3 separate regions of the Homo sapiens genome follow, and regions 1 and 3 are each linked to region 2. Evidence: promoter capture Hi-C in human tissues and cell types (Jung and others, 2019). All regions are on one chromosome and are shown on one strand. The core of a region is centred on a gene start or on the middle of the fragment in contact, and the rest is flanking DNA. Distances in the headings are between cores, read along the strand shown. Region 1 overlaps SYT15 (synaptotagmin 15). Region 2 holds the start of GPRIN2 (G protein regulated inducer of neurite outgrowth 2). Region 3 has its middle 41 kb from the start of NPY4R.

The links. Contacts are between HindIII fragments. The study calls those that stand out against the background at their distance.
Region 1: a contact is called between a fragment that was not itself captured here and the fragment with the promoter of GPRIN2 in region 2, in 3 of the 25 tissues and cell types used here (liver, spleen and stomach).
Region 3: a contact is called between a fragment that was not itself captured here and the fragment with the promoter of GPRIN2 in region 2, in 11 of the 25 tissues and cell types used here (H1 embryonic stem cells, IMR-90 fibroblasts, bladder and 8 more).

The regions. Positions count from the first base shown.
Region 1 is chr10:46,590,690-46,593,974 of GRCh38, reverse strand. It overlaps SYT15 (synaptotagmin 15), which reads right to left. Exons shown (of 8, transcript NM_031912.5): 8 at 1,911-3,285. The region is part of intron 1 of SYT15-AS1 (SYT15 antisense RNA 1); the gene reads left to right. Among named protein-coding and RNA genes, the nearest start is that of SYT15-AS1, 5.8 kb to the left of the region's middle. The HindIII fragment of the contact is 7,676 bases long and covers 1-3,285 here.
Region 2 is chr10:46,555,408-46,558,874 of GRCh38, reverse strand. GPRIN2 (G protein regulated inducer of neurite outgrowth 2) reads left to right here and starts at 2,217. Exons shown (of 3, transcript NM_001385282.1): 1 at 2,217-2,377. RefSeq lists enhancers at 770-1,475, 2,181-2,886. The HindIII fragment of the contact is 19,539 bases long and covers 1-3,467 here.
Region 3 is chr10:46,505,492-46,509,082 of GRCh38, reverse strand. No RefSeq gene overlaps it. Among named protein-coding and RNA genes, the nearest start is that of NPY4R, 41 kb to the right of the region's middle. The HindIII fragment of the contact is 6,119 bases long and covers 1-3,591 here.

The sequences.
Region 1 (3,285 bases), core at 752-3,251, 35 kb before region 2:
GAAATGGAAATTTAAAACTTAAAAATACAATAATTGAAATTAACTACTTAGCATATGGGTTAACTACAATTAGATTTAGCAGAAGGAACATTCTTTGAACTGTAATATAGGACAGAATAAAAACTCTAAGCTGAAGAACAGAGACAAAGAGTATGGAAAATACAGCAAAGAACATAAGATACTTGTGGGAGGTGGTGAACAGGCCTAACACATATGTAACTGGAGTCTTAGAAGGGAGGAAGATGGGGCAGAAGGAACAGTTAAATAAATATAGCCTGAGAACTTTCCAAAACTGATAAAGCTTTATGATCCCCAAGCAGGATAAATAAAAACAAAACTGCATCCAGGCACACTATACTTTTTTTTTATTATTATTTTTTGAGACGGAGTTTTTCTTTGTCACCCAGGCTGGAGTACGGTGGCGCGCGATCTCAGCTCACTGCAACCTCCGCCTCCCCAAGGTCAAGCGATTCTCCTGCCTCAGTCTCCCGAATAGCTGGGATTACAGGCACGCGCCACCATGCCTGGCTAATTTTTGGATTTTTTAGTGGAGACGGGGTTTCACCATGTTGGCCAGGTTGGTCTCAAACTTCTGACCTCAGGTGATCCACTGGCCTTGGCCTCCCAAACTGCTGGGATTATAGGCGTGAGCCACCGCACCCAACCCAGGCACACTATACTTAAACTGCTGCAAATGAAAGACAAGGAAAAAACAGTAAAAGCAGCTAGAGGCAGGTAGGAGGGACACATTTCTTCTTTTCTTTTTTCTTTTCCCCTCCCTCCCTCTCTCCTCCTTCCTGCCTCCCTCCTGTCATTTTCTTTTGTAGAGGGGGGGGATCTTGCTCTGTTGCCTGGGCTGGTTTTGAACTCCTGGGCTCAAGGGTGCTGGGATGACGGGCGTGAGCCAGTGCATGTTACTGACACATTACTCTCAAAGGAGAAACAATAGCACTGAAAATCACTTGTCAACAGAAATGATGGAAGTGAGAAGATAATGGAGTGCCATTCTGAAGTTCCTCAAAGAAAAAAGTGTCAACCTGTAATCCTATATTCACAAAATATACTTAAAAATGAATTTGAAATAGATGTTTCTATTCAAAAACTGAGAAAGGCTGGGTGAGGTGGCCTGTAATCCCAGTCCTTTGGGAGGTCAAAGCAGGCAGACTGTTTGAGCTCTGGAGTTTGAGACCAGCCTGAGCAACATGGTGAAATCCCTTCTCTACAAAAAATACAAAAGAATTAGCCAGGTATGGTGGTGCCTGCCTGTAGTCCCGCTACTCGGGAGGCTGAGGTGGGAGGACTGCTTGAACCTAGGAGGTTGAGGCTACAGTGAACCATGATCATGCCACTGCACTCCAGCCTGGGCGACAGAGTGAGACCCTGTCTCAAAAACAAGCAAACAAAAAAACACAAAAAAACCTGAGAAAATTTGCTGCCAGCAGATGTGCATACACAAAAAATACTAAAGGGAATTCTTCAGGTAGAAGAAAACTGATCTATGATAGAATCACAGAAATGCAGGAAATAATAAAAAAAAACAGAGTGAATATGTGGGTGAATACAAATGAATATTGACTGCACATAGCAATAATAATAATGTCTCGTTAGGTGTAAAATATATGTGAAATTAAAATGAGTAATAATAATATACATGCAAGAGTAGAATGGAGGTAAATAGAGATTGAGTATTGTGAGATCATAGCATTGTCTGGGAAACAATAAAAAGTAAAATTTGTATTAGATTATAATAATGTACAGAAGTTGTAATCTGTGGAGGAAACCACTAAAGAAATTATAAAAGAATGTGTAAGTAGAACCAATGGTAGGGGGGGAAACGGAATTAAAAAAATAATCAGAAAGAAAGCAACAGAAAAGAAAAAATAAAAACAAAAATGGGTAAGACAAATGGAAACAAGTAGTAAGATGGTATTTATGAACACAACTATATCAGTAATTACAATAAATGTAAATTCACGAAATACACAAAAGACAAAATTTGACAGACTTGATTAAAACAACTCTATTCAAGAGACATGACATCATTATAAGAACATTGAAAATTCAAAAATAAGGGGGAAAGTGAAAAAAATACCATTGTGAGTGGTAGAGAAAGCCATTTCACATAATAAAGGTTCACTCTACCAGAAAACGTCAATTTTAAATGGGTATGAGCCTAATAACACAACCTCTAAATGCATAAAACAAAAACTAACAAAACTCAAAGGAGAAATAAACAAATTCATAATAACAGTGGCAGGCTTTATCCTCTCTCAGTAATTTATAGAAAAACAGACAAAAATATCAGTAAAGATGTAGATAATTTGACCAACCTGATTAACAAACTTGACCCAGTTGAAATACACATAACACCTGCACACAACTGCAGAATGCACATTCTTTCAAGTGCAAGAACATTATGATAAGAATATTATAGGAAAGTCTGTCATAAACATAGCTTATATAAAAATATAACAGCAAATTAATCTAAATTTTATTTATTTATTTACTTATTTTATTTTTTTGTTTATACTTATGTCATAAACATAGTTTATATAAAAATATAACAGCAAATTGATCTAAATTTTATTTATTTATTTATTTACTTATTTTATTTTTGGAGACAGAGTCTCGCTTTGTTATCCAAGCTGTAGTGCAGTGGCGTGAACATGACTCACTTCAGCCTTAACCTCCCGGGCTCACGCAATACTCCTGCCCCAGCCCTCCAAGTAGCTGGGACAACAGGCATGTGACACCATACCTGGCTAATTTTTGTGGTTTTTGTAGAGACCGAGTTTCACCACGTTGGTCTCAAATTCCTGAGCTTAGACAATCTACCTGCCTTGGCCTTCCAAAGTGCGGGGATAATAGATGTGAGCCACTGAGCTCGACTTAAATCTAAATTTTATTTTATTTTATTTTATGGCCATGCTCCCTCTAATAAATCTAAATTTTAAATAAATAAGTCCAAGTATTGTTGTGTTTATGTGTATAAACCTGCGCACACACACAAAAGTGTACACACCCTGCTGGTTTCTATTACAAGAATGTTAAGTTTGGTTTGACATTCAACAGTCAATTAGTATAAGTCATCACATCCAAAGAATAAAGGAGAAAAATAAAATTATTTCAAAAGGTGCAGAGTAAGTATTTGAGAGAAATTTAACCTTATTTGTAATTAAAAAAATCTTTTTAACAGCTTGAGAATATATGTTAATGAGTACATTAAAAATCCTATAACAACCATCAAACTTCATGGTGAATATTGACAACTCTCCACATGCCACA
Region 2 (3,467 bases), core at 968-3,467:
TTCCCCCATGCAGTGCAGCTTGTACCTCCAGGACCTGACCCAGGAGGAGCTCAGTAAATATTTGATCAAGTGACTGATAGCAGCGATAACACTCCACGGGACACGTTCACAAACACCCTCTTCCCCCAGCCCTGTTAGGTAGGTATAATTACTACCACTCTGCAGATGAGGAAACTGATGCCCAGAGAGATGAACAGTTTTGCTTGGGTGTGGGGTTGCACAGCCAGTGAATATGTGGGGGAGTTGAGATTGGAATTTAAGTGTGACTCCCCATGCTGGGTTCTCCCTGGACAGCTGCCACAGCCAGGGGAGCCTCCTTGCCAGGGCATGAATGGAAGAAGGGGGCCAGTTGGACAAGGAGTGATGCCCTGGGGTGAGGGCCAGCCAGCTGTGTTCACAGGTAGATTGCATGGCAGACATCTCCTGACACCCAGCCCCAAGAAGGCTTCCTTGAAACACACAGTGAGGTTCTTGGTTCTTGAGATGTCCTGGGAGCTGAGAGCCCCAGGTTTGGGGCCTGGATCTGGCACCAACTCTCAGTGTAACCACAAGCAGTCCATCCCTTCTTGGGGCTCAGCTGACTTCACTAAAGAGGGAATATGAGTAAGATGCCTAAGATGTGGAAGCAGAGGTCCTAATTCCTGGACAGGGGCAGAAGTGGGTAGTGGCCTCGGCAAACAAATCCCCTATTTGCCTCCTTTAAGCAGGATCCCCCTACCAGGCAGTGTGTGATGGTGAGGCCCAAGCCTGGGGTCTGACGTCGACACCCCTGTGGGCATTTGGCCAAAGGCAGCCATCTGCCAGAATCTGAGAGCTGCTCTCAGACCTCGCTGGAGAGGGCTACCTGGGGCAGTCTGAGTCTCTCTGGGCAGACTGAGGTCCTTTGCTACCCAAACGGGGAGAATTAGAGATACTGTTGGCTCCTGGGCACTGGAAGGGAGGAACGCAGGCCTCTCAGCACAGGGCTGGGCCAACAAGTTGGGGGTCCCGGCACAGGGGACAACGGAGAAGTGCCAACATTGGGACCCAATTATGTGATACTGGGGCCCAGAGATAGTACAGGTGCCTCATACCACGTGGCCCTGGGTGGACAGCAGGAATCTATTGCGAGTGGCGGGAGGCCGGGGCTGCCTGTCCTGCGCCCTGAAGCTGGCCAGCGGTTGTGGAAACTGGGGGATATTGAGGGAACCGTAGGCCCAGGTCCTCAGCCTCATAGTGTGGAACCTGGCGATCCCAGGGCCTGGGCTGGCCCCCGGCGTCACGGGACCGGGAAGGCGCTGTGGTGCTGCGGGGAATTGCGGAGAAGAAGGCGGGCTCCAGTGGAGGTGGCTCATCCCCGCACGGTCACTGCCCTCGCCCGCTGTTGGGGTCCGCGGCTGGGAGACTGAAGGCCTCAAGTCGGGCTGGGTAGGGGCACGTGGGCAGGGAAAGGGGTGGTAGATTACCAGTCTTCAGGGGCGGGGCTGGAGATGCAACCCTAGGGAAGGAGTCTACCAGGCTGGGCTCTTGAGGGGCAATGGAGGGCTCCGGGGGCCAGGCCAGGCCAGGATCATGGAGTTCAAAGGACTGGAGTGAGGTTTGGGGTCCATGAGAGTGGAGCTCAGAGGATGGGACGGTGGGTCCAGGATTTGGGACCTGGGGCTGGAAAGTCCGAGGCTAGTGGAGACCAGGCCTGGTATCCCAGACGAAAGGGCCCTATAGGAAACGGGGTCTCGTGGGCGGGATCTGGAGCCAGAGAATTGTGAGAGGCGGAGCTAGGATGGAGAAGGCGAGAGGAAAGGGGTAGCCGCCGGCGCGGAGACCTCAATGCGGGGCGTGGTGCGGAGGGGGAACTGGAGCGAGGGGCACTGGAGCGAGGGGGTGGGGCTACGAGGAGGTGGACTTGAGGGGCTGGGTCTGGGGCCGGAGAATCGTGGGGAGCTGCGCCTATACACCCGGGACGGTGGGGTTGCGTCGGGGAAGTGGGAGTCTTGGGGGTTCGCTGGGCAGCCTGGAGAACAGGCGGTCGTGGTGCGGGCGGGGCCGAAAAGACCGAGGACAGTGGGGACCCGGCCTGAGGAGGGGTCGGGAAGGAGGGGTGGGGGCGCGCGGACGCAGATCCCGGGCCGCGGCGGGGCGGTGGCAGGCTCCAGAGTGGCACGGGCCCAGGTGAGCGAGGTCTCCGCCCGCCGCCCCTCCCGCCGCCCCGGTGCCAGCTGCCCCGCTGGCCCCTCCCTGTACCCGGCGCTTGCTCCGCGGGCCGGGCCGACGGCGGCGGGCGGCGTCTCGCGCCCAGGCCAGGTCGGCTCTGGCTCCATCTTGGGCCGCGGCACCTGGCACCTGTGGCGGCCGCAGGAGCAGCGCTTCCCCCGCCTGCGCGGCCCCGGCGGGCGAGAGGGTGAGAGGCTGGCTCCGCGCGCTCCCGTTGGGGCGGGGGGCGTGGTGGGCGGCACCTCCCCCTTGCTGAGCCTCAGAACCCACTCCTTCCCGCTGCCTGCGCTCAGACCCCCGGCATCCTGGCCCCTGCCCAGCGCCCAGAGCCCCCGGTGGCCGCATCGCACTCCCCGCGCTCCGCCTCTCATTGTCCTGTCCTGTCCCCTCTTCTACGTCTCCTCTGCCCATCCTCCCATTTTCACAAGTCTGTCCGGGACCCTGTCTCCTTCGGCCTCCACCCCTGCTGCCATCGCTCCTCCCTCTCCCCTTCTTCCTTTTCCCCTCCCTCAGCCTACTGCGCCGCCTACCCCGCCCCCAGCCTTGCTGCCCTTTGGCTTCTCCTGTCCCGCATCATTACCCCGGCCCACAGCCCCATTTGCCTGCAGTCGCTGCCTTTGCTCCTGAGAAGGTCTGTAGCCTCGTTTCGGGCCCGTATTGAGCCCCCTTCTCCCTAAGTCCGGGTGGGCTTTGTGCAGGAGGGGCGGGAGGGGAGCTATTCTGGGCGAGGCTGCGTGGTGCGGTGCTTTCAGGCCTTTGGCCCCGCAGCAGGGGCGGCCTGTGCTTGGCGTGCAGAGTGCAGCTGGGTAGACGCTGTTACTGCATACGGGCCTGTGTGTCCCAGGCTGGGGCATGAGTGCTTGTGAGCGTGCAGATAGGGACACACCGGCCGCCTAGGCTGCTTCTAGGCCGGGGCACCCTCTCCACCTAGGTGCCCCCCAGGGATTGTGGGCAAATCCTCCCCAGGGGAGGAAGCTCAGGGGCTGTTGGGCGCCTAGGCCTCTTCCTGGTGAGCAGAGCCTCATCCATGGGGCCACTGACCCCACAGTTACCCCAGAACCCTTTCCTGGCACAGCTTGTGACCCGGGGCATGTAGCCCTTAAGGCACGTTCATTGTGAAGGGCAGGTTTTGTCTCCTCCAAACCCTCCCTTTAGGAATGCTGCCTGCTGCTTTGCCCAGAGTTGGCCCTGAGTGTTCCTATCAGGCCCCGTTCACTCTGGGGTGGATTAAACCACCTCCTGGAGGGTGCTGTATCCCCACTGTGCAATGGGGGTTT
Region 3 (3,591 bases), core at 720-3,219, 50 kb after region 2:
GTCAGTGTGTAGTGAGAAATCAGCCTCAGGGCTGAGATGGACTCTTAATTCTGGACGCCTGTGTCTGTGGCTCTGTCTTAAGCTAGTGGGGCCCAGAGAGGATGTTGGCATGACTCTAAGTGGAATGTCTGCAGCCGGCGTTCTGGATTTTACTGCCCAGTAGAGGTGGAATGCTCCTGTGGTCCTCAGTGAGATTGGGAAGTTCATAGCCCTCCAGCATTGCTGTGGGTGAGTTGACTGCTTCAGGGGCCACTGGATCTTGTCTGGTATGCCCACTGTCAGTCCACCTGTGTATCAGCCCAGCCTCATCAGCATTTACAGAGCACTTACTGTGTGCTAGGTGCTGAATGCAAAGACAGAAACAAAGCATGCCCTGCTCATAGGTCAGTAGGAGAGAGATAGAAGCTGTCTTGGTTTGTTTTGTGTTGCTATAAAAGAATACCTGAGGCTGGGTAATTCATAAAGAACAGAAATTTATTTCTTATAGTTCTGGAGGTTGGGAAGTCCAAATTGAGGCAAGCCACAGACCTTCCTCAAACAGGCACCAGCCTGGTGTGGAAGACAGATATATATGTATGCGTGTGTGTGTGTGCGCACACAACACGGGAAAATTTAAAAGCATTCCTGAACTCTGCCCCACACCCTGTGAATCAGAATCTCTGAACCAGGTTATTATTTGCAAATAAACAAAGCTATAAGAAGCCACATAAAACAAATGCATGGCTTAATGGATTTTTACAAGAGTAAAGCTTTGTAACCACCACCTAGACTAAGAAACAGAACTTTGTCCAGAGGCACCTCCTCACTCTCTTCTCCAAAGTCACCACTACCTTGACTTACAGTAGACACTCCTTTCCTTTGCTTCATAGTCTAATTATTACCCACATGTATATCCCTACACCCTATAATTAAATCTCACTTATTTTATAAAAATACATCTTTTAAAAGTTGGTTAATACACAGGTTTTCCTACCCCCTCCCAAGACCCAGGTCATTTGATCTGTAGAGTTTCCAATAGTCTGGATTTTGCTGACTGCACTCTCATGGTGCTATTCAACATGTCCCCTGTCCTCTGTGTTTCCTGTAAATTGGTAGCTCATCCATGTTCCAGCATGTATCAGTACATCATTCCTTTTTATGGCTATTATTCCATTGTATATCACAATTTGTTTATCCATTCATTTGTTATGGAAATTTGGGTTGTTTCCACCTTTTGGCTATTGTTCATAGTGCTGCTATAAAGATACATGTACTTGTTTGAGTAGTCAGTGTCAGTTCTTCTGGGTATATACCTAGGAGTGGAATTGCTTGATCATACCATAATTCTATATTTAAGTTTTTGAGAAATCACCAAACTTTTCTCAGCAGTTGTGCCATTTTACATTCTCACCAACAATGTCTGAGGGTTCCAATTTTTCTACATTCTTGTTAGCCCTTGTTATTTTCCATTGAAAAAAATATATCCATCCTAAGTCAGGTGCAGTGGCTCATGCCTCTAATGCCAGCACTTTGGGAGGATAGCTTGAGGCCAGGAATTTGAGACCAGCCTGGGCAACATAGTGAGATCCTGTCTCTACAAAAAAATTAAGAAATTAGTAGGGCATGGTTATGCCTGCCTGTAGTACCTCTTAGCTGCTCAGGAAGCTGAGGTGGAGGATCACTTGATCCTGGGAGGTTCAGGCCACTGTGAGCTGTGATGGTGTCACTGCACTCCAGCCTGGATAACATGGCAAGAGCCTGTCTCAAATCAATAAATTATATATGTATTATATAATTTATCATATAATAACATTATTATATATACATATTATAAATAATTATATATAAATATTATATATATCCATCCACCTATTACATATATATACAGTGGGTGTGAATTGGTACCTCATTGCAATTTTGATTTGCATTTCCCTAATTAATAAAAATATTGAGTGTCTTTTCATGTGCTTGTTGGCATTTGTATATTTTCTTTGGAGAAATGTCTATTCAAGTCTTTGCCCATTTTAAAATTGAGTTGTGTGTTTTTGCTGATGAGCTGTAAGAGTTCTTTAAATGCTTTGGATACCAGACCTTTATTAGATGTATGATTTTACTTTGTTGGTAATTTTCTTTGATGTTCGAAAGTTTACTATTTTTATGAAGTCTAATTTATCTAGTTCTTCTTTTGTTGTTCATGCTTCTGGTATCATATCTAAGACTCTATTGCTAAAGCTAAAATTATGAAGATATACTCCTATGTTTTCTTCTAAGAGTTTTATGGCTTTAGCTCTTATATGTAGGTTGTTGACCCGCTTTAAGTTAATTTTTCTATATGGTGTAAGATGGGAGTCCAACTTCATTCTTTTGCATGTGGATATCCAGTTGTTCCAGCACCATTTGTTGAAGAGATTATTTGATTATTATTTCCCCCATTGAATGGTCTTGGCACTCTTGTTAAAAATTAATTGACAATACAGTTGGGCCTGGTGGCTCACATGCATGTAATCCCAGCATTTTGGGAGGCCAAGGCAGGCGGATCACTTTTAGCTCAGGAGTTTGAGACCAGCTGGGCAACATGGCAAAACCCCGTATCTACTAAAAATACAAAAATTAGCCAGGTGTGGTGGTGTGTGTCTGTAATTCCAGCTACTTAGGAGGCTGAGGCAAGAGAATTGCTTGAGCCAGGGAGGTGGAGGTTGCAGTGAGCTGAGATAGCACCACTGCACTCCAGCCTGGGCCATAGAGCAAGCCTCCATCTCAAAAAAAAAGTTAATTGACAATAGATGTATGTAGATAGATCATGGATTTATTTCTGGACTCTCAGTTCTATTTTATTGATCTGTTCTTATGCTAGTATCACACTGTTTAGATTACTGTAGCTTTCTAGTAAGTTTTGAATGTGGAAAACGTGAGTACTCCAGCTTCGTTTTTCTTTTTTCAAGATTATTTTGGCTATTCTGCATTCCTTGATTTTCCATATAAATTTGAGGATTGCCTTGTCAATTTCTGCAAAGAAGTCATCTGGGATTTTGATAGAGATTGCATTGAACTTATAGATTAACTCTGGGATATTTCTATCTTTAACAATAAGTCTTCTGGTCCAAAAACATGATATGTATTTTCATTTATTTTGATCTTTTAAGACCTCTTTCAACAATGTTTTATATTTTTCGGAATATACCATTTGGATTTCTTTTGTTATCTTTATTCCTAAGTATTTTTTGATGTTATTGTAAATGGAATTATTTTTCTAATTTCATTTTTGTCTTGTTCATTGACAGTGTATAGAAACAGAATTGATTTTTGCAAACTGATCTCATGTGCTAAAATCTTGCTGAATTCATTTACATATTTTAATTTTTTTGTGAATTGCTTAGGATTTTCTACATAGAAAAATCGTGTCATCTGCCAATTGAGACCATTTTACATCTTTCTTTCCTATCTGGGTGCCTTTTTTTCCCTTATATAATTGCAATAGTTGGAACCTTCAGTATGATGTTGAATGGAAGTGGTGAGTAGACATCCTTGTTTCTTTTGTGATCTTAGAAGGAAAGCATGTTGTCTTTCCCATTAAATGTGATGTTATCTATGTTTTTTTTGTTGTTGCTGCTT